7 separate regions of the Homo sapiens genome follow, and all the other regions are linked to region 6. Evidence: promoter capture Hi-C in 16 types of primary human blood cells and fetal thymus (Javierre and others, 2016). All regions are on one chromosome and are shown on one strand. Each heading gives the region's core, a stretch centred on a gene start or on the middle of the fragment in contact. The rest is flanking DNA. Distances are from core to core; before and after follow the strand shown. Region 1 has its middle 11 kb from the start of KRT16. Region 2 overlaps KRT17 (keratin 17). Region 3 has its middle 3.6 kb from the start of EIF1. Region 4 has its middle 7.4 kb from the start of LINC00974. Region 5 has its middle 14 kb from the start of KRT17. Region 6 holds the start of KRT20 (keratin 20). Region 7 holds the start of LOC124904004 (a long non-coding RNA gene).

Region 1 (3,086 bases), core at 241-2,740, 720 kb before region 6:
TTTCATGAGTTGTTCATTAATGAGATGTCAGAACAGAGGATGTAGAATACCCTCCAACTGGGCATGCGGTGCTATTTTATTTTATTTTATTTATTTATTTATTTATTTTTTGAGACAAAGTCTCACTGTCACCCAGGCTGGAATGCAATGGTGCGATCTCAGCTCACTGCAACCTTTGTTTCCCAGGTTCAAGCAATTCTCATACCTCAGCCTCCTGAGTAGCTGGGACTACAGGTGTGTGCCACCACACTCAGCTAATTTTTTTTTTTTTTTTTTGTATTTTTAGTAGAGACAGGATTTCACCATGTTGGCCAGACTAGTCTCAAACTCCTGGCCTCAAGTGATCTGCCTGCCTTGGCCTCCCAGAGTGCTGGGATTACAGGCGTAAGCCACCATGCCCAGCCTGGGCATGGGTGCTATTTTAAAGAAGTTGTCTGTACCCGTATCTTCCGAGTGCCTAACCCCCAGGAGCAGATCCTTGGAAAGCTCATCACGAAAGGCCTCTACCTGACAGATGCAGAAATTCAGGTTTACAGTAGTTAAAGGAAAATTAAAAAAAAAACTTTCTTGGGGTCTCACAGTCACTTAGCAAAACTCCCGGAGAGCAGAAATCACTTATCTCTTCTTCATTGCTGTTATCTTGTAGAAACAAATCATGAGCCCCTTTTAAACAGAAGGACAATATTGTGCAGAAATATGAGTTTTCCCTTCAATAAGGGAACCAGAATTTCCATCTGGAAATGGCTTGCTGCCTGGATTTCTCAAACTATGATTCAAGCCCCAAATCAGACTGCCTTTTGCTCTTGCCTGGTCTTTCCCACTTCCTAAGATCCTGGCACCTGAGCTGAGAAGGTTGAGAACTCCCAGTGTTCCTTGAAATCTGTCTAATTTGAAGGTACCTTCAGATTCCTTATGCTTGACTTACTGTCAAAGTTCGGCAAATATTGTTTTAGATAATTGCATGAGGTGCAAAAACAATGACTAGAGTGAGAATTAATGGCAGCCCATAAAGTGCATCTGCTGTTGTAAATGAATGAGTGGTATGCTTGTAAAGCTCTGCTTTCTTTGGGTCCATTGTTTCTGAGAGCTCTAATAAGCTCAGTGTCCCTCCTAGTGTATGAGATAAGCAATTTCTTGTGCTTGTCTTTTCACTGCTGTAGCTTGTTGTTTAAGACCTTCTGTCTGCTCCCCGAAACATAAACAGTAATGAAACTTTTGTTTTGCTAGTTACCAACAGCCCCTGGATGGTACCCAGCCCATAAAGGACACTCAGTAAAGACTTGTGGAGTCAGGCCGTGGAGGTTTGGTTTAGAAGTCTCTGCTCTTTCAGGACTCCACAGAACTTGCTCAGAAGAATTTCTTGAGGGCAGGCTTCTCTGGGTTCCATGTGCTTCTCATTGTGTTGGCACAGGGAGGTCTCCATGGGTAGGTATTGACAAGCTGGCATGGATGTGAAAGCAAATATCTTCTTGAGCCCTGGAGGGATGGAGCCCCATCTACAGAACTGAGGCATGAGGCAGTGGAGCTCCTTATCTGGCCCCTCCTCTGATGTGCTGTCTGCATCCTGGAATCCCCAACAGTCCAAGACCCCCGAAGGGCTTTGAGCAGATCAAGGGGTGTTAAAGCAATAGTGGCAGCTATCCAGGAGACGCCATTTCTGACTTCACCCCTAGTTAACACACTGTTGATTGCAAGGGTCCCTCTTTCTCCTACCATGTTAGGATTGTTACACATAAAACTCATGCGTCGGCCTGGTGCTGTGGCTCACGCCTGTAATCCCAGCACTTTGGGAGGCCTAGGAGGGAGGATCACCTCAGGTCAGGTGTTTGAGAGCAGTCTGGCCAACATGGTGAAACTCCATCTCTACCAAAAAATACAAAAATTAGACAGGCGTGGTGGTGCGTGCCCATAGCCCCACTACTTGGGAGGCTGAGGTGGGAGAATCGCTTGAATCAAGGAGGTGGAGGTTGCAGTGAGCCGAGAGTGTGCCACTGCACTCTAGCCTGGGTGACAGAGTGAGACCCTGTCTCAAACAACAACAACAAAAAACAACAGAAAAAATCCCATACGTCTCTAGCTTTTATCTACCATATGAATAGTGTGACGAAACAAAAGGAAATATAGAAAATGAAAACACTCATCCATTGTTCTGTCACCAGACCTTTTATTCTACCAGGTTCTTTTCCAGCTTTGTTATATGTGATTATACAGCAAAGATGACTTTCAAATTATTTAAGGGACTTCACTTAATTTTAAATTAATAGAAATAACAGACCAGTATAAAAAGGCATATGTGCAAAGATATTTACTGCTGTTTATTTGTAGTGACAGAAGGTGGCAAACACATTTTTAAAAGTTGATAGTGGACAGGTGGAATAAATAATGGTCCACTGCTACCCTGGAGTATTAAGCAGCCATTATAGTCAATAAATTGGAGCTATTTATTGGATGGCAAGGAGGGATTCCTCCAGGGATTGGAGAGAGAGAAATGTGGAATGCAGAAATGTACATGTAGGATATTGATTTCACTTATGTGAAATAAACAGCCAACCCCTCATCCCTCATTTATGTAAATGCATGTGCATGTGTCTGTGAGATTATATAAGCACCAACAATATGAAAAGATACATACAGAGTTATGAACATAGATTACTGTGGGGGTGGGGTTGAAGGCTGATGTGGGTGGCAGTGGTTGAGGGGAAAAGGGGAGCCAAGAAAAACAGGAAAGGAACAAAAAGAGTGCACACACATTTTAATACATGTGCATAAAATTGTGTGTGTGTGTGTATATGAATAAAGAAACTAAACAACAATTTAAGAACCAAAGAATCAATTAATTTGTTGAATACCACATCGACTTCCTAATTAGAAACAGATTGCATGCACTAATATTCTGGCCTGTCAATTTTATGTGATCATAAAATAGATTTTTAATTTACTTTATGCTTAGATAATAATATAACTATACAAATTAAAACTGATAACCAAGAGAAAACATTTTTTAAAAAGATCAGATCACAGTCCTTTGCAGGAGGTAGTGTCGAATAGCTGGGGGGAGGGCAGAGGCTAACCTGAAGCTGAACTTC
Region 2 (3,141 bases), core at 92-2,591, 740 kb before region 6:
AAGTAAGGAAATCTTGTCCCATTTCAAACTCTCAAAGCTGAACATCTACATAGAAGCTTGGAAATTAGAGGGGAACTTTTGGGGGCATAGGCCTAATAATTAGATTTTATTTTGGAGAGTCCTTGGTCTAATGGGGGAGATAGAGTCTGATGGTGGAGGCAATACTGAGCAGATGAATAAAAATCATTTAGAGGGTCAGATAGAGCAGAGGGAGAACAAAGGAGGGGTCCTTGTGGGAAGTGGGGTCCCCTTGTGGGGGAAGGCTTGGGAGTGAGAGGTCAGGATGGGTCCAGATGCGCACATCCACATCCCCTTTTTCCATAGGAGATGAACGCCCTGCGAGGCCAGGTGGGTGGTGAGATCAATGTGGAGATGGACGCTGCCCCAGGCGTGGACCTGAGCCGCATCCTCAACGAGATGCGTGACCAGTATGAGAAGATGGCAGAGAAGAACCGCAAGGATGCCGAGGATTGGTTCTTCAGCAAGGTGGGGGGTGCTGCAGGCCAGAGGGCTCTCTTAGGGGCTGGGGCTCAGGGGCCTTAGCACTGACAGTAAGCCCACGGCCAGATGTCTTGGAGGTGCCCCTCCTCAGTAAGCTGCATGGACCACAGGGTCACCCACTGCATCAACAGACATGGAGCTGAGCTCAAGCTGGGATCTGGCGGGTGGGTGGGGAGGTAGGGAGCTCCCTCAGAATAAAGGCAGAGGGTAAAGACCTTGGGAGTCCCCACGTCTCCCTCAAGAAGTCAGGAACTAGCATCAAGAGCCAGGCTACATGTTCTGGCTTGTTCTCAAGTTTCCGGTCTGTGCCTCCCACACGCTGGGATTAACCATAAAAAGTTAACATTTCAAATGGCATGTTTCTGGGCTTTGGGATGTGGGAAGCTGGTGAGAAGGCACACTCTCTCCACAGTTAGATTTGGGAGGAGGCCTGACTTGGGAGAGGGATCCAGGCTCACACCGCCCTGTCCTGTGTCCTGTCTGCAGACAGAGGAACTGAACCGCGAGGTGGCCACCAACAGTGAGCTGGTGCAGAGTGGCAAGAGTGAGATCTCGGAGCTCCGGCGCACCATGCAGGCCTTGGAGATAGAGCTGCAGTCCCAGCTCAGCATGGTAGGAACAGTCCTGTGCATGGGGGAGGGCCCAGAAGAGGGCATTGACCATCCTCACTGACCCCTGGTCTTCCTGCCCTCCTGCAGAAAGCATCCCTGGAGGGCAACCTGGCGGAGACAGAGAACCGCTACTGCGTGCAGCTGTCCCAGATCCAGGGGCTGATTGGCAGCGTGGAGGAGCAGCTGGCCCAGCTTCGCTGCGAGATGGAGCAGCAGAACCAGGAATACAAAATCCTGCTGGATGTGAAGACGCGGCTGGAGCAGGAGATTGCCACCTACCGCCGCCTGCTGGAGGGAGAGGATGCCCAGTGAGTGGGGGCGCCTGGGGTCAGGGCTGGGGGTCTCTTGGCAGGGGTGGGGCTCTCAGACCCACATCTAATTTCCTCTCTGTTTTTTTTTTTCTTTCAGCCTGACTCAGTACAAGAAAGAACGTAAGTATCTGCGTGGCTTCGGCCCTGGGGGTTGGGTGCATGGGACAGGCAGCCCACCTGCACGTTGCTGGGGCAGGGTCCCCAGGAGCTCCAGGAGTTGATGGCTGTCCCTCAGCAGGGAGAAGTGACTCATTAGCACTGAGGATTGATACTCAGGAAAAGATCAAATGAGAGAGACACTGTCTGGTCTGATGGGGGTGGGGCAGGGAACTGGTCCTTACCTTGGAGATCCTAGTCTGATGGAGGAGACAGGTCCCAGCTCTGGAGATTGTCATCTGATGGGAAGATAGGAACATGGTCTCATGATCTTTGCTCTTGACAGCTTTTGGATGAGCAAAAACAGTCCTGTCTCTGGGGTCTGTAGCCTGATGGGAGATAGGGACATGGTCCTTGTCCTCCAAATTCCAATCTGATGGAGAATATATGATCCTAGCCTTAGGGTTCCTAGTCTAATGGAGGAGATAGGGGCCTGGTTTTTGTCTTGGCGATCCCAGTCTGATGGGGGAGATGGTAGAAAATCTATGTCCTAGAGACTGCAGAGAAATGGAGACGGATTTCATGGAGTCTACATGGCTCCTCCCTGGCAGGACACACTGGATCAGAATCAAATAACCCATCTGGGGAGGCAAGACTCACACAGGGCCACCGGCAGAGGGATGGGATGGAAGGGAGGTGGTGGCAGGGACAGGAGGGATGTGTGTGCAGTGTGATGTCGAGGTGCCAGTGGAGGCACTCACAGCACCTGGGGGAGGATGAGGGAGAGAGCCGGCTCCTGTCCATGAGGGCTAGGGGGCAAGCGAGGGCCTCCTGGCCCCTACCCACTTTAAATTGCCTGCTTCTCCTGCAGCGGTGACCACCCGTCAGGTGCGTACCATTGTGGAAGAGGTCCAGGATGGCAAGGTCATCTCCTCCCGCGAGCAGGTCCACCAGACCACCCGCTGAGGACTCAGCTACCCCGGCCGGCCACCCAGGAGGCAGGGAGGCAGCCGCCCCATCTGCCCCACAGTCTCCGGCCTCTCCAGCCTCAGCCCCCTGCTTCAGTCCCTTCCCCATGCTTCCTTGCCTGATGACAATAAAGCTTGTTGACTCAGCTATGAAATGTGTCCTTGTTCTGGCCCCTGAAGTGGGGACTAGGGACAAAAGGGTGAAATGGGAAGGAGTGAGGGTGAGGGGAGATGGTGCTTGGAGACCCACCGTTGTTGATTGGCAGGTCAGGGGTCAGCTTAGACCGGCATAAAGAGTAAGTCTGGGGAGAGTTTGGAAGGGGGTGCTTGCCTCTCCCAAGGGCTGGAGATTTTCAGGGGGTGGTCCAGGCTGCGCTAGACCTGGGGTGGAGTTGGTGTATCAGGTGCGGTCCTAGGTGGCCACTGCTTGCCCTGTGAGTAGCTCTGTGACCTCGAGAAGTTAGGCAGTCACTTCCCCTCACTGAGCCTTGCTTTCTCATCCATAAACGGATGGGAAGATCTCAGGTGTGGGAGCCTGAATCCTCAGAGATGACTCACTCAATCAGTTGTTCCTCCCGGTCCTGTGGGCCGTGCCCTACCCCTAGATGGGGCAGGAGGTGGGCAAGGGCTGGGATAAGCACAAAGGGAGGGTGG
Region 3 (3,211 bases), core at 160-2,659, 800 kb before region 6:
AAACTCAGAAAAACTCTGAGGGAGGAAATGCTAGGTGTACCTGATATATATATGTGTATGTGTGTGTATATATATATATATGTATATGAGTGTGTGTATATATGTGTGTGTGTGTATTTGTGTATATATGTATATATATATGTATGTGTATATATATATATATATAGACAAGGTCTCACTCTGTCACCCAGACTGGCTGGAATGCAGTGGCATGATCATGGCTTACTGCAGCCTCAACTGCTTAAAGCAGTCCCCCTGCCTTGGCCTCCTAAAGTGCTGGGATTACAGGCAGGAGCCAGTGTGCCTGGCCTGATACTTTGTTTTGATTCTATATTTACTAAATAAACTTGATTAATAGTTTGGTTTCCTTGACATCAGGAAGGAGGAACCATGGCTAGGTCATGGGCATCCCAGTCTCATGGTCTTCCCCTTTTGAGAAGCTAAGGCCCCAGTCAGCCAACTTGGGAACCTTTACTATCAGGCAAAATTCACCCCCGACATTTCACGTAGGTTCTTCTCTATTTTCCTTAAGTGTTGGCTGGTCCGAGAAATAAAGGGACAGAGTACAAAAGAGAGAAATTTTAAAGCTGGGTGTCCGGGGGAGACATCACATGTCGGCAGGTTCCATGATGTCCCCCAAGCCGCAAAACCAGCGAGTTTTTATTAGTGATTTTCAAAAGGGGAGGGAGTGTACGAATAGGGTGTGGGTCACAGAGATCATGTGCTTCACAAGGTAATAAGATATCACAAGGCAAATGGAGGCAGGGCAAGACCACAGGACCACAGGACCGGGGCGAAATTAAAATTGCTAATGAAGTTTCAGACACACATTGTCATTGATGATATCTTATCAGGAGACAGGGTTTGAGAACAGACAACCGGTCTGACCAAAATTTATTAGGCGGGAATTTCCTCGTCCTAATAAGCCTGGGAGCGCTACAGGAGACCGGGGCTTATTTCATCCCTCAGCGATGACCGTAAAAGACAGCTGTCCCCAAAGTGGCCATTTCAGAGGCCTCCCTCAGGGACGCATCCTCTTTCTCAGGGATGTTCCTTGCTGAGAAAAAGAATTCAGCGATATTTCTCCCATTTGCTTTTGAAAGAAGAGAAATATGGCTCTGTTCTGCCCGGCTCACGGGCAGTCAGAGTTTAAAGTTATCTCCTTTGTTCCCTGAACATTGCTGTTATCCTGTTCTTTTTTCAAGGTGCCCAGATTTCATATTGTTCAAACACACAAGCTCTACAAACAATTTGTGCAGTTAATGCAATCATCACGGTCCTGAGGCTACATACATCCTCCTCAGCTTATGATGACAGGATTAAGAGATTAAAGTAAAGACAGGCATAGGAAATCCCAAGGGTATTGATTGGGGAAGTGATAAGTGTCCATGAAATCTTCACAATTTATGTTCAGAGATTGCAGTAAAGACAGGCGTAAGAAATTATAAAAGTATTAATTTGGGGAACTAATAAATATCCATTAAATCTTCACAATTTATGTTCTTCTGCCATGGCTTCAGCGGGTCCCTCTGTTGGGAGTCCCTGACATCCCACAACACTTTGCCCTGACGGACATTGTTCTGCTGGAAAGGGTTTTGGGAGAGAGTTTGAATGAATGAATTGGAGCTGTCCTTCCCAGTGTGCATGCAATATTTTGTCACACTAAAATATTTTTTGAGACAGAATCTCGCTTTGTCGTCCAGGCTGTAGTGAAGTGGTGCGATCTTGGCTCACCACAGCTTTCACCTCCTGAGTTCAAGCTATGCTTCTGCCTCAGCCTCCCAAGTAACTGAGATTACGGGCAGGTGCCACCATGCCCAGCTAATTTTTGTATTTTGGGTAGAGAAGGGGTTTTACAACATTGCCCAGGCTGGTCTTGAACTCCTGACCTCAAATGATCCGCCCGCCTTGGCCTCCCAAAGTGCTGGGATTACAGGTGTGAGCCACAACACCCGGCCAAGACTCAGTTCTTTTTTTTTTTTTTTTTTTGAGACAGGGTCTGGCTTTGTCACTTAGGCTGGAGTGCAATGGTGCCATTATAGCTTATTGCAGACTTGAACTCCTAGGCTCAAGTGATCCGTTTCAGCCTCCTGAGTAGCTGGGACTACAGGCATGTGCTACCATAGCCAGCTAATTTTTTAAATTTTTGGTAGAGATGAGGTCTCACTATGTTGCCCAGGCTGGTCTTGAACTGCTAGGCTCAAGTAATCCTTTACCTCGGCCTCCCAAAGTGCTGGGATTACAAGCATGAGCCACCGCACCAGGCCTGAGACTCAGTTCTTGACTTGCCACCAGCTTTGTGGGTGACCTGGTTTACCTCTTGGCTTCAGTTGTATGCCCCATAAAAGGAGCACTGGGTGATCTCTTCCTGGGTCTGAAGTCTGAAGCGCTGTTTTCCCAAGTTGGGAGCATTTCCAGAAGGGTCTTCCGAAGTCTACCTTCCAGTGTGGGAGGTTACCCCAGCCCCAGGAGCCTGAGGAGTAATCATGGAGGCAGGAGTAATTAGTTTGAAAGTGGCATGCATGCCTGCTGTTAATGCTGGCTTCTTTATTAGTGTGCTCCTGGCTTTGAGATGCTGTCACCTGGGCAGCCAAGGGCAGGGTACAAAGCACAGGCTCTGGAGTGTCTGTATCTGAATATCATCTCCATCTTGTTGCCTGGGCGACTTAGCCCCTCCCAGCCTGCATTTTCTCCTCTGTACGACAGAGACAATAATGCCCTTCTCATAGGCTGTTGAGGGGATTTAAAGAGGAGACTATGTACAGCCGGATAAAAATGTAAAGTTATGAAACCACTATATAGATTATACCAGTTTCCCAGAGGGGAAGGGAGAGAGAGAGCCTCCGAGAGCAGCAGGGGACAGGAGTGAGCCCCTCTGAATGAGGATGGGACAGAGGTGGGCACCTCTCCATGGTGATCTCCTTGGGATGTGACAAGGGCATGGCTGTGTAGGACACCTTGGGACCCTCGACCTCAATAAGATTCTCCAAGGCCACCAACGTGGCACGGAAGCAGCAGAATCTCCCTCCAGGAAGGGATTGCACCCTCTGGGAAAATAGACATCTCCATGGTAACCAAGGCAGATAGATGATCTGGTCTAGGGGCTCCTTGTAGCTCTGGTGCTCTAGAAAACCTTGTGAGCGAGAGAGAATCCTGGGGAGGGCTGGAGCCCCTGTCATTTCCAAGGCTGGATTTCTGAGCAGCCCAGTGG
Region 4 (3,145 bases), core at 101-2,600, 680 kb before region 6:
TGATCTCTTTTCTAGCGCTCCGCTGTTAATATGCAACTGTTTACTCTTCTCTGGTTCTTTTTCTGCTACCTGCTGTCTTCCTCATCTACCATTTTACATATCTTTTTATTTATTTTATTTATTATTATTATTATTTTTTGAGACGGAGTCTCACTCTGTCGTCCAGGCTGAAATGCAGTGGCACGATCTCAGCTCAATCCAACCTCTACCTCCCGGGTTCAAGCGATTTTCTGCCTCAGTCTCCTGAGTAGCTGGAACTACAGGCACCTGCCACCACGCTGAGCTAATTTTTGTATTTTTAGTAAAGACGGGGGTTTCACCATGTTGGCCAGACTGGTCTTGAACTCTTGATCTCAGGTGATCCACTTGCCTCGGCCTCCCAAAGTGCTGGGATTACAGGTGTGAGCCACAAGGCCTGGCCCATTTTATGTATCTTTTCTCTACCTCAATTTGGGAAATTCTCCACCTTAAGTGTGAAGCTCCCCAAGGGAGAGGTCAGAAACTTGCTTTTCCGAGCTCACCTGCATCTAGGGCATGGGCCCCTGACAGCCCTGCCACTCAGGTGCGCCCGCACAAGACGTTTTTTTTTTTTTTTTAACCATGGCACCCCATTGGAGTGAAGGACTTTGATTTTGATTTAAAGGAGGTGCTGAGTGGAATTTTTTATGGCAGGAACAAGGTTGGGCAGAGATATGTGATTTTTTGAGGAAGCAATAGCAGCGGCTCTGGCAAAGACATGCAGTGCCCATCATCCATAGTTTGAGCTTCAATTTTGGTGGCCAGAAGTGACAGCAGTGGTGTGTTCCTAGAGCAATCCTTGAGTGTGATTTGGGGAATTTTTCTGTTTGCATACCCTCCAAGTTTGATTCTCTGCACATCCTGGAAAAGATGCCCAGTAGTTGCTCATTATTTCACAGGGAATACATTCAAAGATCCTGACTGGATGCCCAAAACTGTGGATAGCACCTAAATCTATCTACACTATGCTTTTTCCTACACATTCATACTTAAGATACAGTTTACTTTATAAATTAGGCAGACCAAGAGATTAACAACAATAACTAATAAAATAGAATCGTTATAACAATATACTGTAATAAAAATTATTTGAATGTGGTCTCTCTCTTTCAAAATATCTTATCATACTGTAGATCTTAGCAACCTCAGCGTATGGTTTTTTTCTTTCCGTAGTAAGTTTTGAACTGTCATCTTTTCTCTTAAAGAAAGCATTTTGCTGGCTGGGCGCGGTGGCTCATGCCTGTGATCCCAGCACTTTGGGAGGCCAAGGCTGGAGGATCACCTGAGGTCAGGAGTTTGAGACCAGCCTGACCAGTATGGAGAAACACTGTCTCTTCCAAAAATACAAAATTAGCCAGGCATGGTGGCGCATGCCTGTAATCTCAGGTACTTGGGAGGCTGAGGCAGGAGAATCGCTTGAACCCGGGAGGCAGAGGTTGAGGTAAACCGAGATCACGCCATTGTGCTCCAGCCTGGGAAACAAGAGCAAAACTCCTTTTAAGAAAAAAAAAAAAGCACTTTGTGGCTTCCCTTTGGCAAATCTGAATTATCAGCATCACTGCTCTTGCACTTTGGGGTCGTAATTAAGTAAAATAAGGGAACACAAGCACGGCAATACTGCAACAGTTGATCTGACAACTGAGACAGCTACTAAGCGACGACTAGTGGGTGGGTGGTGCATAGAGCATGGAGAGCTGGACAAAGGGATGATTCCTGTCCTGGGCTGGACAGAGTGGGGCAGTGTGAGATTTCATCATGCTCTTCAGGGCAGCACACTTCAAAACTGACAAATTGTTTATTTCTGGAATTTTCCATTTAATATTTTTGGATGACAGTTGACCACAGGTAACTGAAGCTGTGGAAAGCGAAACCATGGATAAGGGGAATGACCGTGTTGCTTTCTCTGCAGGTGAAAGCATATTTATTCTGGTACTCTTTGTTTATTGGGATAAAGAAAAAAGAATTTCCCACAGCAGGTGCCAGGGTCAATGGTGATCTGCTTTAGAAAAGGGACACAATCTGGATCAACGACTGCTGTTGGAACAACCATGTGATAAATTGTAAAATAATTCATGGCTATTCTCTAACATCTGTTCATGTTCTGCACAGAAAAACTAGGCAAGTTAACCCTAAATTTATCATTTTTTTTTTGAGACAGGGTCTCTCTCTGTTGCCCAGGCCGGTGGGCAGTGGTACAATCACAGTTCACTGAAGCCTTGACCTCCCAGGTTCAAGCAATCCTCCTACCTCAGGCTCCCAAGTAGCTGGGACTACAAGCGTGTGCCACCACGCCAGACTAATTTTTGAGGTTTTTTTTTTTTTTTTTTTTTTTTTTAAACTAGAGACAGGGATCTCACTCTATTGCCAGGGCTGATCTTACATTCCTGTGTTCTCTCCCCATCTTGCCCTTCCAAAGTGCAGGGATTACAGGCATGAGCCACCACTCCTGGCCCATCAAATCTTTCATGTGGCACTAATCTCTGTCATTCCCTTAGAGATGTAGTGTTGCTGGTCCTTTTTCTAAACCACGTAATCCTTACTGGTAAGGATCAGGATCCTTTTACTGACTATGTCTAGTCCACTCCAGACACTGGGAAATAACCACAGGATTGGTCTGGGATACCACTGGGCTCATGAGAAGCAAACTTGGGCTAAAACTCCATTTGTCATCTGATCTCTATATTGGTTAGATTCTCAATTGCAACTACCAGAAACTACTTTGCCTATTTTAACAAGTAAGGGATTTTCAAGAGCTCTAGATACCTTAGAGAATCATTAGGAGGGCTGGAGAAACAGAATCTAGGGTGATTTTTCCAGAACCCTCCAAATGACAAAGCAGAGTGGATCTGCCAAAGGAGTTGTTGCCTCTGCCAAGACCATGAAACCACCAAGTCAGATTGGAGCCTTCTGAGTCCATTCTGCACTAATTCTGGACTCAGCTGGAGTTGCAGAGCCACGCTGCTTCTGCTGTCCATACCAGTAAGCTGGATGTCCCAGGTGAACCTCATTTCCTCACCTACTTCCCTTCTAAACCAAGTCCACATGGGTGCGTCTGACTAGTAGAACCTAAATTGCTCAGCTCATCTTAGTGGCAAGGGAGGCTGGTAAATGTAGTTTTTAGATCTCC
Region 5 (3,310 bases), core at 279-2,778, 750 kb before region 6:
GAACCCAGGAGGCGGAGGTTGCAGTGAGCCGAGATCAAGCCATTGCACTCCAGCCTGGGCAACAAGAGTGAAACTCCGTCTCAAAAAAAAAAAAAAAAGTCTAGTCCTTTCATTCTGCAGAGGAGGAGGGTTTGAGCCTAAAAGAAGAAAAATGACTTGCCCAAGTTGGGCAAGAGTCCAGATTTGACCCCAGGTTCTTGGACTTGGAGCTCTTTGCATGACATCATAGAGTGTGATCATAGCTAACACAATGCCTGACCCTGTGGTTGTGAAGATTAGAAACTCTGGTCCCTCTCCATGAAACTTTGCTGAAAAAAGTGCGTCAACCAGAAACACTCAATAACAAGGCTCCCAGGGACCCTGGGTTCTGAGGCAGAGATGGCAGGGACCACAGTGCTGCAGGAGTTTAGTGGAGGGAGCTTGCTCCTGGCTGGCTGGAGGGCAGCTCAGCTTCCTGGATGGAGGAAGCAGGCCTGTATGGCGGGCTGGGGCTCAGGCAGAACACTCCATGGAGCCCAGGCCTCTGCAAAGGAATGCTCCTGCCCTGTTCTCCTGTTTTGCCCTTGGAAAGGATAGATGATGGCTTGCTCTGGTCCTCGTTCCCTGGTCCTCCCTCCCCTAGTCCTCTCTCCCTTGGTTCTTCTCCCATAGCCCTTCCTCTGCTGGTCCTCCCTCCCCCAGTCCTCCTCCCCTGGTCCTCTTTCCCCTGGTCTTCCTACCCTAGTCCTCCCTCTCCTCATGCCCTTCCCCTGGTCCTCCTTCCGCTGGTCTTACCTACCTAGTCCTCCGTCCCCTCTTCCTCCTCCAGCAGTCCTCCCTGCCCTGGTCCTCCTCCCTCAGTGCTCCCTGCCCTGCTTCTCCTCCCTTGTTGGTCAGTCAGGTGTGTCACACTGTGGTGGGCTGGGTGGTCAACACCAGGACAAGGAGTTGAGAGACCCCCTTCACATCAGGGAGAAAGAGCTCCTATGTCAAGGGAGCCCCCAATCTGAGGGGGAGACATGGCTGCTACCTTGAGGAAGTGTCCAATTTAAGGGAAGAGACACAGTCTCTGTTTTGGGGAGCCTGGCCTCATCTGCCCCTGGAGAAAGCCACTCAAGAGCATTGCAGAGCAGGCGCGAATGAGCGCTCATCAACAGGGAGAAACCAGCCTCCCCAGGGCGCAGGGAGGGAGGAGCGAGCTGGTAGCTGGGTCGGGGAGGGAGGTGCAGCTGGGGGTTTGGGGTCTGCAGGGTGGGAAGGAGCCTGGAGTCCCCTTGGTGTCTCTGACTCCCATTTCCCCAGGCCCTCAGGTTGCCCTCAGCCAGGCTGCAGGGCAGAGTGGAGAGGGGGTGTGAGCCTGAAAGGGGAACCCACTGGAGTTTCTGCCTCTCACTCACCCCTATGCATCTCTCAGGCCAAGGAAGCGGTGGGGGAAGTGAAAAGAGGGAGGAAAAAGAGGGAGGGAAGGGCAGAGGGAGGGAAAGACAGAGGGAAGGACAGAGGGACGAAGCCGTCTGGTCAAGACTCCTCTCACAGGAGTCTTCACCCTGTGAGAGGCAGTGAGGTGTCCCACGGGTGACCCCCGAGGCCTGGGTTTCCTGTCCGTGATGTCCTCCCCACTCATTCCCACTGGTCCCCAGCCTTCCCTCCCTCCCTCCCTTGCTCTGTCCTCCCGCCCTGGGCCTCATCCGAGGCATTCAGTCCTCTAGGCCCTCTTTTGGGAAGGGCCCCTGGACAGCTGATGTGCTGCCTGGAAGGGTGGGGTGTTCCTGGGTGTCCGTATCCTACGTCTTGGATCCGCCACAGGCTGACAGTTCCTGGAAACCAGTCAGAGGTGAGTGAGGGGTGCAGAGGGGAAGAAAGGCTGGGTCCACTTACCCCTGGGTAGGGGAGCCCCTGGCCAAGCCCTGGGTATACAGGGGGTGCTGGGGGATCCCCTTACCTCTGTCTCTTCAAACTGGGGCAGAGGCTCAGGGCACCCAGCAATGTTCCGAATCTCCCAGGGCCCTGGGAAGGTGGAGGGTGGGAGGATCTGGGTGGGGCCGCCTGGGGCCTCAGGATAGAGGCAGGAAACAGAATAGAGGAAGCAGGATTCCACCTGTGGAGGCGGCAGGTGTGGCTGGGTGAGGGTGCACTTCTCAGGCGATGCTGGGCCAGGGGTGGGAGTGCCTGGGGGTGAGCGAGGGGCAGGAGATCTGTGACCTCCAAGGGCCCTGCAGGTGACAGGGGCTCTGTGTCTGAGGGGTGAATGGAAAGGACCCCAGTGGGTCTTAGTGACAGGGGACTAGGGGTGGAATGAGGGTCTCTGGGGTTCTCTCCTCATCAGCGAAGCCAAGGTCTCAGCTGGGAGCCCGTTCTGGGCTCCAGGGCCTCTCACTTTCCCTGACCACCTGATACTGACCCTTTTCCTTGAGGGGAAGGGTAGGTGGCCATGTCCCTTTCCTGGGACCTTGTCTCCTCCCCAGTCACTGCTCAGGCTCCATGACCCTAACAATTCAGCAAGCACTCACAGAGCACCTGCTGCATACAGCCCGCGCTGGTTCTGGGCAGGGGTGTGGGGTATGGGGTGGGCACCATCCTAAGGGTTGACAGTTAATCCTTGCGGGGGCTCGTAGGAGCCAAGGCCAGCTGGGCAGACGGGGCATGACCTTGTCTTTTTGTTTTTTCTTTTGTTTTTTTGAGATGGAGCCTCGCTCTGTTGCCCAGGCTGGAGGGCTGTGGGACGATCTCAGCTCACTGCAACCTCCACCTCCCGGGTTCAAGCGATTCTCCTGCCTCAGCCTCCTGACTACCTGGGATTACAGGTACTACCACGCCTGGCTTATTTTTGTATTTTCAGTAGAGTCGGGGTTTCACCATGTTGGCCAGGCTGGTCTCAAATTCCTGACCTCAAGTGATCTGCCTGCCTCGGCCTCCCAAAGTGTTGGGATTACAGGTGTGAGCCACTGATCCTGTCCAGACCTTGTCAACCTTGTCAATATCAATATGCATCTATTGGCTGGGCGTGGTGACTCACTCCTATAATCCCAGCACTTTGGGAGGCAGAGGCAGGAGGACTGCTTGAGCCCAGGAGCCTGAGACCAGCCTGGGTAATATAGTGAGACCCCATCTCTATTTAAAGTAAAAAAAAATGCATCTATTGAACATCTCCTTTCCATAGGGCCCCAGATCATTCTACGCCCTCTGCCTCCCCACAACATAGTAGGGGTGATATTAGGGGACACTGTCCCCAAACCCTAGCTCTGCTCAAATTCCAGGCAGGTCCTGTCTGTGCTGCGCTCTCCAGCATGCTGGCTTTTCTGCACTCTCTGCAGAGGAGACTGAGGGGGAG
Region 6 (2,940 bases), core at 257-2,756:
TTAGAAGAAAGTTGTGTGTAAAAGAAATTTAAACTCAAAAGTAAAAAAGCCACTGGTTTCTAAAAACTCAAAAAAAATTTTTTTTAAGTGACTGGCTTTCAGAACAACAGCAACAACAAATAAGCCACTAAAATAAGACAATTAAATTCCAATTTTTTTTGCATTTACTTGCTTGCTTAATTATATACAAATCTCAATTCCATTAAAGTATCAGGATGACAATTAATTAGATGTTTTTAGTGACTTTTCCAATCCCTTCTAATTAACTTGGAAGTGATTAACTGATTATCTAATTATATTAATTAGTGATTATCTAATTAACTAAGGAAGTGATTTACATGCTTCATGGGAAGTGTGAATTCTCAGCCAGGGGGTTTGAATGAAGGGAAGCAAGTGACTCAGGCATTTATTGGTTGCTTACAATCAGATTCCCACCGATGAGATCATGCCCATGTGTCTAGAGGTCCACACACAAGCAGCTGCCTCCAGCCCAACCCTGGAAGCTGAGTGTAGTCCCAAGTCCCCGCCTGCACCCCTTCCTATATAAACAGCCACTCTCGCTGTGATTATGGGGGCATACAAGGAAGATCAGGCTTCCATGGAAGCTTCTGCAACTGAAATCCACTGGGGACTTTAGAAGGAGCACCTGTAAGTAGCTTCAGGATGGATGGGGCAGAGTCTGTCTCATGGTGGGTGTTAAGCTGGCCTCATACAAAAGAGGAGACCCATCCTGATACCATGCCAGGTACAAAGCACTGTGTGATTTATTCTAAGTGTCTTGGTAACAGGACTTGAAGCCAGGTGGTGACTGGAAACCTAAAATGCAATATTTAGTCATAGAACATTAGAAATAGAAAGAAAATAACCTCCCAAATCATCTAATCCATCACTCAGCTAAATTCATTTAATTCACATCCCCAAACTACATCTCCAAATGTACAATGGTTTCATTCCTGGTTTAGGGATTCGAGGTTTTGTGTTTGTACAAAATATTTTAATAGTCTTATAAAATAAGATGTCCAAAACACAATAAACTTAAAAGCCAAACACAAGCAAAGCATGAAACAGAGGTTCTGAAGAGCAACTCCTCAATACAAATCAAACATTGTCCTTTATCTCCATTGTGACTTTCAGTTATGTAGGCACATCTGCCTTTTTAGATACCTAAATTATACATGAGGATTGTAAATATTCTTTGTGTGTATGTTAGGATGAAAAAAACCTGCCAAGGCAGGCGCATGGGCTAAAAGAATACACTTTCCTGTTTCCTTTTATTACCTGTTTAATTAAAAAAAAAAAAAAGTTGCCCCTGATAAAAGCCTCCAAGAAATGCCTCTAGTGGTATTTTCTGGAATTGAATTAAGCATATTAACATATTGCTATACAAAGCGGGGGGCGTGGAAGTAAGGCAAGGTGGACTGTGGTGCCAATCCTAGTGACATGTCAGCAGAGGAGGAGTTTCTTGCCTGTGGACTTCATAAAAGGCTAGCTCAACACCCTCCATGAGACACACTCTGCCCCAACCATCCTGAAGCTACAGGTGCTCCCTCCTGGAATCTCCAATGGATTTCAGTCGCAGAAGCTTCCACAGAAGCCTGAGCTCCTCCTTGCAGGCCCCTGTAGTCAGTACAGTGGGCATGCAGCGCCTCGGGACGACACCCAGCGTTTATGGGGGTGCTGGAGGCCGGGGCATCCGCATCTCCAACTCCAGACACACGGTGAACTATGGGAGCGATCTCACAGGCGGCGGGGACCTGTTTGTTGGCAATGAGAAAATGGCCATGCAGAACCTAAATGACCGTCTAGCGAGCTACCTAGAAAAGGTGCGGACCCTGGAGCAGTCCAACTCCAAACTTGAAGTGCAAATCAAGCAGTGGTACGAAACCAACGCCCCGAGGGCTGGTCGCGACTACAGTGCATATTACAGACAAATTGAAGAGCTGCGAAGTCAGGTGAGAGATGATGCTTGTGTTTCCTACTCTGTGTTTAGCTTCAAGATAAATCAAGAGGTTATCTATGTTAGGTAGGTCCAAATGGACTTTGTAAAGCAAATTAGGCTAAAATGTTACATCTATAAAAATTCTTTCATCTACCTTTAGTGCTGGAGTACCTGACTGTACAACAGGATGACCTTAAATCATGCTATTTTTAATGTTTAACACAATTACATACAAAATATGAACATTTTATCCTCCGGAATAAAATGAATCTTTGTCACAGCTTATCACATCAGGGCTAAATGTATAGTGAACAATCTTTCTGAAAAGAGCTAAAAATTAATTACGTGATAAATCTCTCTTAGTTTTTCACCTAGTCCTTATCAAGTTTTGAAACCCCAGTAAATTCAAAGACTTTTCTCCTTTTATTTAAGTAAATGTTATAATATGACTATTAGAATACTGTACTGCAGATTTAAATAGCAAAGTGATTCTGGGTGGAAACAGTGTGGCAGGAATATGGGTCTTAATGATGCCTGGATTTTTAAGTGCCCTGTTTAATAACATGACCATCAGCATCAAGCAGTTCAGAAACTACTTCTACAGTAATAAAATGTTCTATTGCCCCCAATTCATGTTTATTACAATCATATCACAACCTCCTCCTATGTCATCAAAAAAAGGGTGGAGCTCTGTATTTTATCAGTTTCATGGAATAAAAGCAGAAGACTTTGCTCCTAATTGAAAATTTCAGATATGACACAGAGCACTTGCTTCAAATTAAAGTTCTTATCTAATTAAGAAAAGTGTTCACTGTAATTTGTGTTAAGATTCATACTCCTTTAGAGCAAAGCGCATTTACTTACCAGCAAGTCTGTTTTTCTTGAGTTGTACTAAACATCAGGGCAATTTGATTCGGACTCCATGGGAAGTTACTTTGGAATTTTAGAAACTATGGGCATGTGAAGCAATGGCATTTAAATAGCCCTTCCGGAATAAAGTT
Region 7 (3,307 bases), core at 523-3,022, 770 kb before region 6:
CCCCTGACAGGGAAGCCCCCGCCTCTGCCCCACCACATCCTTCCCCTGAACGCGCGGCTGCAAAACCACACTGGAATTCCCGAGGGTCAGTGCCGAAGTGGTCCCAAACTGAGGAGGACACTATGCATGGGGACAGAGGAGGGGGCCATGGGGTAAGGGGGACAGGAAAGGCCATCACAGCAGGGCCCAGAGGGGAACTGACCCAGGCTGAGCAGGAGTCCCAAGGAAGGGCCCAGGTGCTGCCTGCCACCAGGACCCCCGCATTACAGAGGCCTCTCTTGCAACAAGAAAGCTTGGAACTCATAGAGGTGTCCAGAACCTCCACATTCCAAATGATGGTATCATTCTTGGGGCAGGAGGGAAAGGAGGCAGAGCCTGTTCCCCACTCTCACTTTCCCAGATGCCACAGGGACCCAGACTCCCTGTGTCTCTCATATCCCGAGACGCAGACCCTGTCAGGGAAGGGGCATGTGGCAGCGGGGCAGGCATGCCTGTGCCAGGCTGGGGCCACCAAGCACTGGTGGCAGCATAGACCTTGGGGTCTCTCTGTGCACAGCAGGGCCACCAGCAGGGCCAGGGCAAAGGTCTTCATGGTGTGGGAACTGCTCATTCTCGCTCTCTCTGGCCGGGCTGCAAGGCAAGTGGTCCCTTCCCCTGCCCCGCCATCTTTTGGCCTCACCTTCCTCCCTCCCCATGGAAGGCCCACACTCCTGTGTTCCTTGTGGCACTGCCTGGTCACAATCTCAAGTCCTCTTCCTTTCTTCCCTACCTGCACCCCCCACCCCCTAATTCAAGCCTCGGCGTCTCCACCCTCCCCAAGCCATCCCTGCCCCATCAACGAGGGCCAGCTCTATGCCCCTGATGACCTGCCAGCCTCCTGAGCCAGGCTGTGCACTCTCTGACTGCCAGGCCAGCCTCTGTCCTGCTTCCCCTACTTCCTGCTCAGAGCCGGTCATGCTGAGGCTGCGATGGAGACCTGGGAGCAGGAGGCAGCAGGGGATTCCTTGGGCTGTGGCTCTCATCATTGCTGAGAGAGGGAGAAAGGGCCCGGCCATTCCTGACCACAGCCCTGGGCTCCTGCACTCAGCCGGGCACTCACTGCATGCCAGCCTCAGACAGGGCAGTAGGGCCGCCTGGATGTGTACTGAGCCCTTCCAGCCAGGGCTTCAAGGCCGGGTCACAACTCCCGGCTCAGTGCCCAACTCCTCAACCCCTCAGCATCCACCTGCCCAGCTCATGACAGGGAGGACAAAACAAAGGAGGCCCCTGTGGGACTACACAGGCCAGCTCCTGACACTATATAGGTGGGGAAACTGGGGCCCAGAGAGGGGCGGTGACTTGTCCAAATTCATGGGCCCAGAGCTGGGCTCCTAGGCCTCTCTCCCGGGCGGCCTGAGTTAGGCCGTGGTGCCGTCAGTCCCGGAAGGTTGGGACACCCACGGCAGTACCTGACTTGCCGGGGCCCAGCCTCCAGCCCACAGCCCTGCTTTGAGCAGCAAGGGAGGCTGCCCCGCCCCCAGCGTCTCCTCCTGCCTGACTGAGTTTCCCAGAGCCAGCAGAAAGGCAGGGCCGATGCAGGTCTGAATCCGCCCAGGGATCTGGCAGTCCCAGCTGGCTTGCCCTGCCCTCGAGCCCTGGGAGCGGGAAGTGAGCCTCCCCACCTCAAATCCTCCACCTTCCCTGCCACCCACACCTTCAGCCCGGGGCCCAAACATGGCAGGGAGCCAGGCCCCTCACCTCCCTCCTTGGTAACCGAGGCAAACACCCAACACTGGAGACTGTTTGTCCTGCCAACGCTGCACCCCAACCTGAGCCCAGACGCCCTGCCGCAGTTGGGAGAAGCCTGGCTGGGGGAGGGGACGTGGCAGGGGCAGCCAGAACCTGTGGGCTTGGGGACCCTTCCCCTCCACTCCAGTTCCCCAGGAGCTTCTGAGTGAGCACAGGGCAGCGGGGCTGTTGTCTCAGCACCTTTGACTGTGAGGCCCCCAACCTCAGCCTCTGCTCCACCCCTAAGACTGTGCGCCCGGAAGGTGGAGAAGGGCTGGCTGGGGTGAGAGGGTCTGTGCTTGAACTACAGCAGAGAAAGAGAGCAGAGGGAGAAAGTTCTCTCTGGCCAGCCCAGCTGTGGGAGGGCTCAGGGAGGGAGGCCAGTGGGCCCTTTCTTTGCAGGCAGGGAGGGATGGGAGATTCTACCAGCGCCAGACCTGGGGGGCTCTGCCTCCTGATCCCCAGGGTCTGGGTGGGCACCGTGAGGCACTCCAGCGTCGCGTTTGGGGGCTGGCTGGGTGGGCAAGGAGGTGGATGTCAGGGCCTGGGGAGGCTGGGGTAAGGTGGCGCCAGGAGGGGACGGGCAGTTTTTCTGGCCTTCACTGGCCTGTGGTTTCCGCAGTGCAGGGCATGGGACTGTGGGGCGATGGAGCAAGGAGGATGGAGTTTCTGTCCCTGGGAAGCCTCTTGTCTGAGGGGAGACATGCCCCGAGCCTTCAGGGACCGCCTAGTCGGAGGGGGAGACACAGCCCTTGTCCTGGGGAGTTTGGAATAACCGTATTGGGGCCAGGGACAGAGGATGATGGAGTCACCCTGCTCTGCATGGAGCACGGGACCACCCGGCCTCACGGGGCTGGGCAGACGCTTCTGTTTCTTCTGCATGGAGCACGGGATCACCTGGCCTCATGGGGTTAGGCAGACGCTTCTGTTTCTTAGGAAGAGGTCTGTTTGCTTCTCAAATGCTTCCCGGGAACCTCCTCCACCACTGCAGCCCTGCACTGTGGGCAGGAATGTCACTAGCCCCCTTTTACGGATGAGGAAACTGAGGCTCAGGCATCTGGGAAAATGTGCTGTGGGCAGCCCCCCCGGACAGAGCTGTGCTGGCACCCTCCAGACAGTGCAGGAGAAGGGCAGGTCCCACAGAGTCCCTGCTGTTCCCCCAAGTCCTGAGGCCAGGGGGTGCTGTCTCTACTCTCAGTCCCCTGCCAGGACCTGTCCCCTGGTTCAATCCCAGGCAGGCCAGCGGGGAGGGTGGGGTGGGAGACTTGGTTCTGCTGAGGCTGCAGCTTCCCTGGCCCACCTAGGCTGAGTCAGGGCTGGGCAGGAGCCGAGGGCAGCAGCTTTCCCAGGGCCAGCCCGGGCGGCGTCCGCATTCCTCACTTGCAGGGTGCGTCTGGGCTTGGCTGAGCCAGGTGTGCTGTGCCCCACCCAGGCCCCCGCCTGCAGCTGAGCCAGCTCAGCGCTGGGGCCTTGTAAGGAAGCTTCTGGCAGCCACCAGGAACGGGGTGTGGGAACTGCTTGGCTTGCATGTCCTTGCTGG

What was found. Contacts are between HindIII fragments. The CHiCAGO score rates a contact against its expected background, and 5 or more counts as called.
Region 1: a fragment that was not itself captured here is called in contact with the fragment with the promoter of KRT20 in region 6 in 2 of 17 cell types (total CD8 T cells and non-activated CD4 T cells); the score reaches 5.6 in total CD8 T cells.
Region 2: a fragment that was not itself captured here is called in contact with the fragment with the promoter of KRT20 in region 6 in 5 of 17 cell types (activated CD4 T cells, naive B cells, naive CD4 T cells and 2 more); the score reaches 8.1 in activated CD4 T cells.
Region 3: a contact is called between a fragment that was not itself captured here and the fragment with the promoter of KRT20 in region 6, in 3 of 17 cell types (naive CD4 T cells, total CD8 T cells and naive CD8 T cells). The highest score is 8.9, in naive CD4 T cells.
Region 4: a fragment that was not itself captured here is called in contact with the fragment with the promoter of KRT20 in region 6 in 13 of 17 cell types (non-activated CD4 T cells, total CD4 T cells, M1 macrophages and 10 more); the score reaches 14.6 in non-activated CD4 T cells.
Region 5: a fragment that was not itself captured here is called in contact with the fragment with the promoter of KRT20 in region 6 in 14 of 17 cell types (activated CD4 T cells, naive CD8 T cells, total CD4 T cells and 11 more); the score reaches 20.3 in activated CD4 T cells.
Region 7: a contact is called between a fragment that was not itself captured here and the fragment with the promoter of KRT20 in region 6, in 15 of 17 cell types (activated CD4 T cells, naive CD4 T cells, total CD8 T cells and 12 more). The highest score is 22.2, in activated CD4 T cells.

The regions. Positions count from the first base shown.
Region 1 is chr17:41,600,702-41,603,787 of GRCh38, reverse strand. No RefSeq gene overlaps it. Among named protein-coding and RNA genes, the nearest start is that of KRT16, 11 kb to the left of the region's middle. The HindIII fragment of the contact is 9,356 bases long and covers 1-3,086 here.
Region 2 is chr17:41,618,938-41,622,078 of GRCh38, reverse strand. KRT17 (keratin 17) reads left to right here. Exons shown (of 8, transcript NM_000422.3): 4 at 325-486; 5 at 988-1,113; 6 at 1,200-1,420; 7 at 1,521-1,543; 8 at 2,391-2,637. The coding sequence ends at 2,485. Among named protein-coding and RNA genes, the nearest start is that of KRT17, 4.1 kb to the left of the region's middle. The HindIII fragment of the contact is 2,565 bases long and covers 59-2,623 here.
Region 3 is chr17:41,683,680-41,686,890 of GRCh38, reverse strand. No RefSeq gene overlaps it. Among named protein-coding and RNA genes, the nearest start is that of EIF1, 3.6 kb to the left of the region's middle. The HindIII fragment of the contact is 6,365 bases long and covers 1-3,211 here.
Region 4 is chr17:41,560,321-41,563,465 of GRCh38, reverse strand. No RefSeq gene overlaps it. Among named protein-coding and RNA genes, the nearest start is that of LINC00974, 7.4 kb to the right of the region's middle. The HindIII fragment of the contact is 7,476 bases long and covers 1-3,145 here.
Region 5 is chr17:41,637,190-41,640,499 of GRCh38, reverse strand. It overlaps the pseudogene KRT42P. Among named protein-coding and RNA genes, the nearest start is that of KRT17, 14 kb to the right of the region's middle. The HindIII fragment of the contact is 3,640 bases long and covers 1-3,310 here.
Region 6 is chr17:40,883,808-40,886,747 of GRCh38, reverse strand. KRT20 (keratin 20) reads left to right here and starts at 1,506. Exons shown (of 8, transcript NM_019010.3): 1 at 1,506-1,952. The coding sequence starts at 1,563. The region is part of intron 1 of LOC105371777 (a long non-coding RNA gene); the gene reads right to left. The HindIII fragment of the contact is 977 bases long and covers 608-1,584 here.
Region 7 is chr17:41,654,149-41,657,455 of GRCh38, reverse strand. LOC124904004 (a long non-coding RNA gene) reads left to right here and starts at 2,322. Exons shown (of 2, transcript XR_007065756.1): 1 at 2,322-3,307. RefSeq lists enhancers at 2,511-3,207, 3,208-3,307. The HindIII fragment of the contact is 2,956 bases long and covers 295-3,250 here.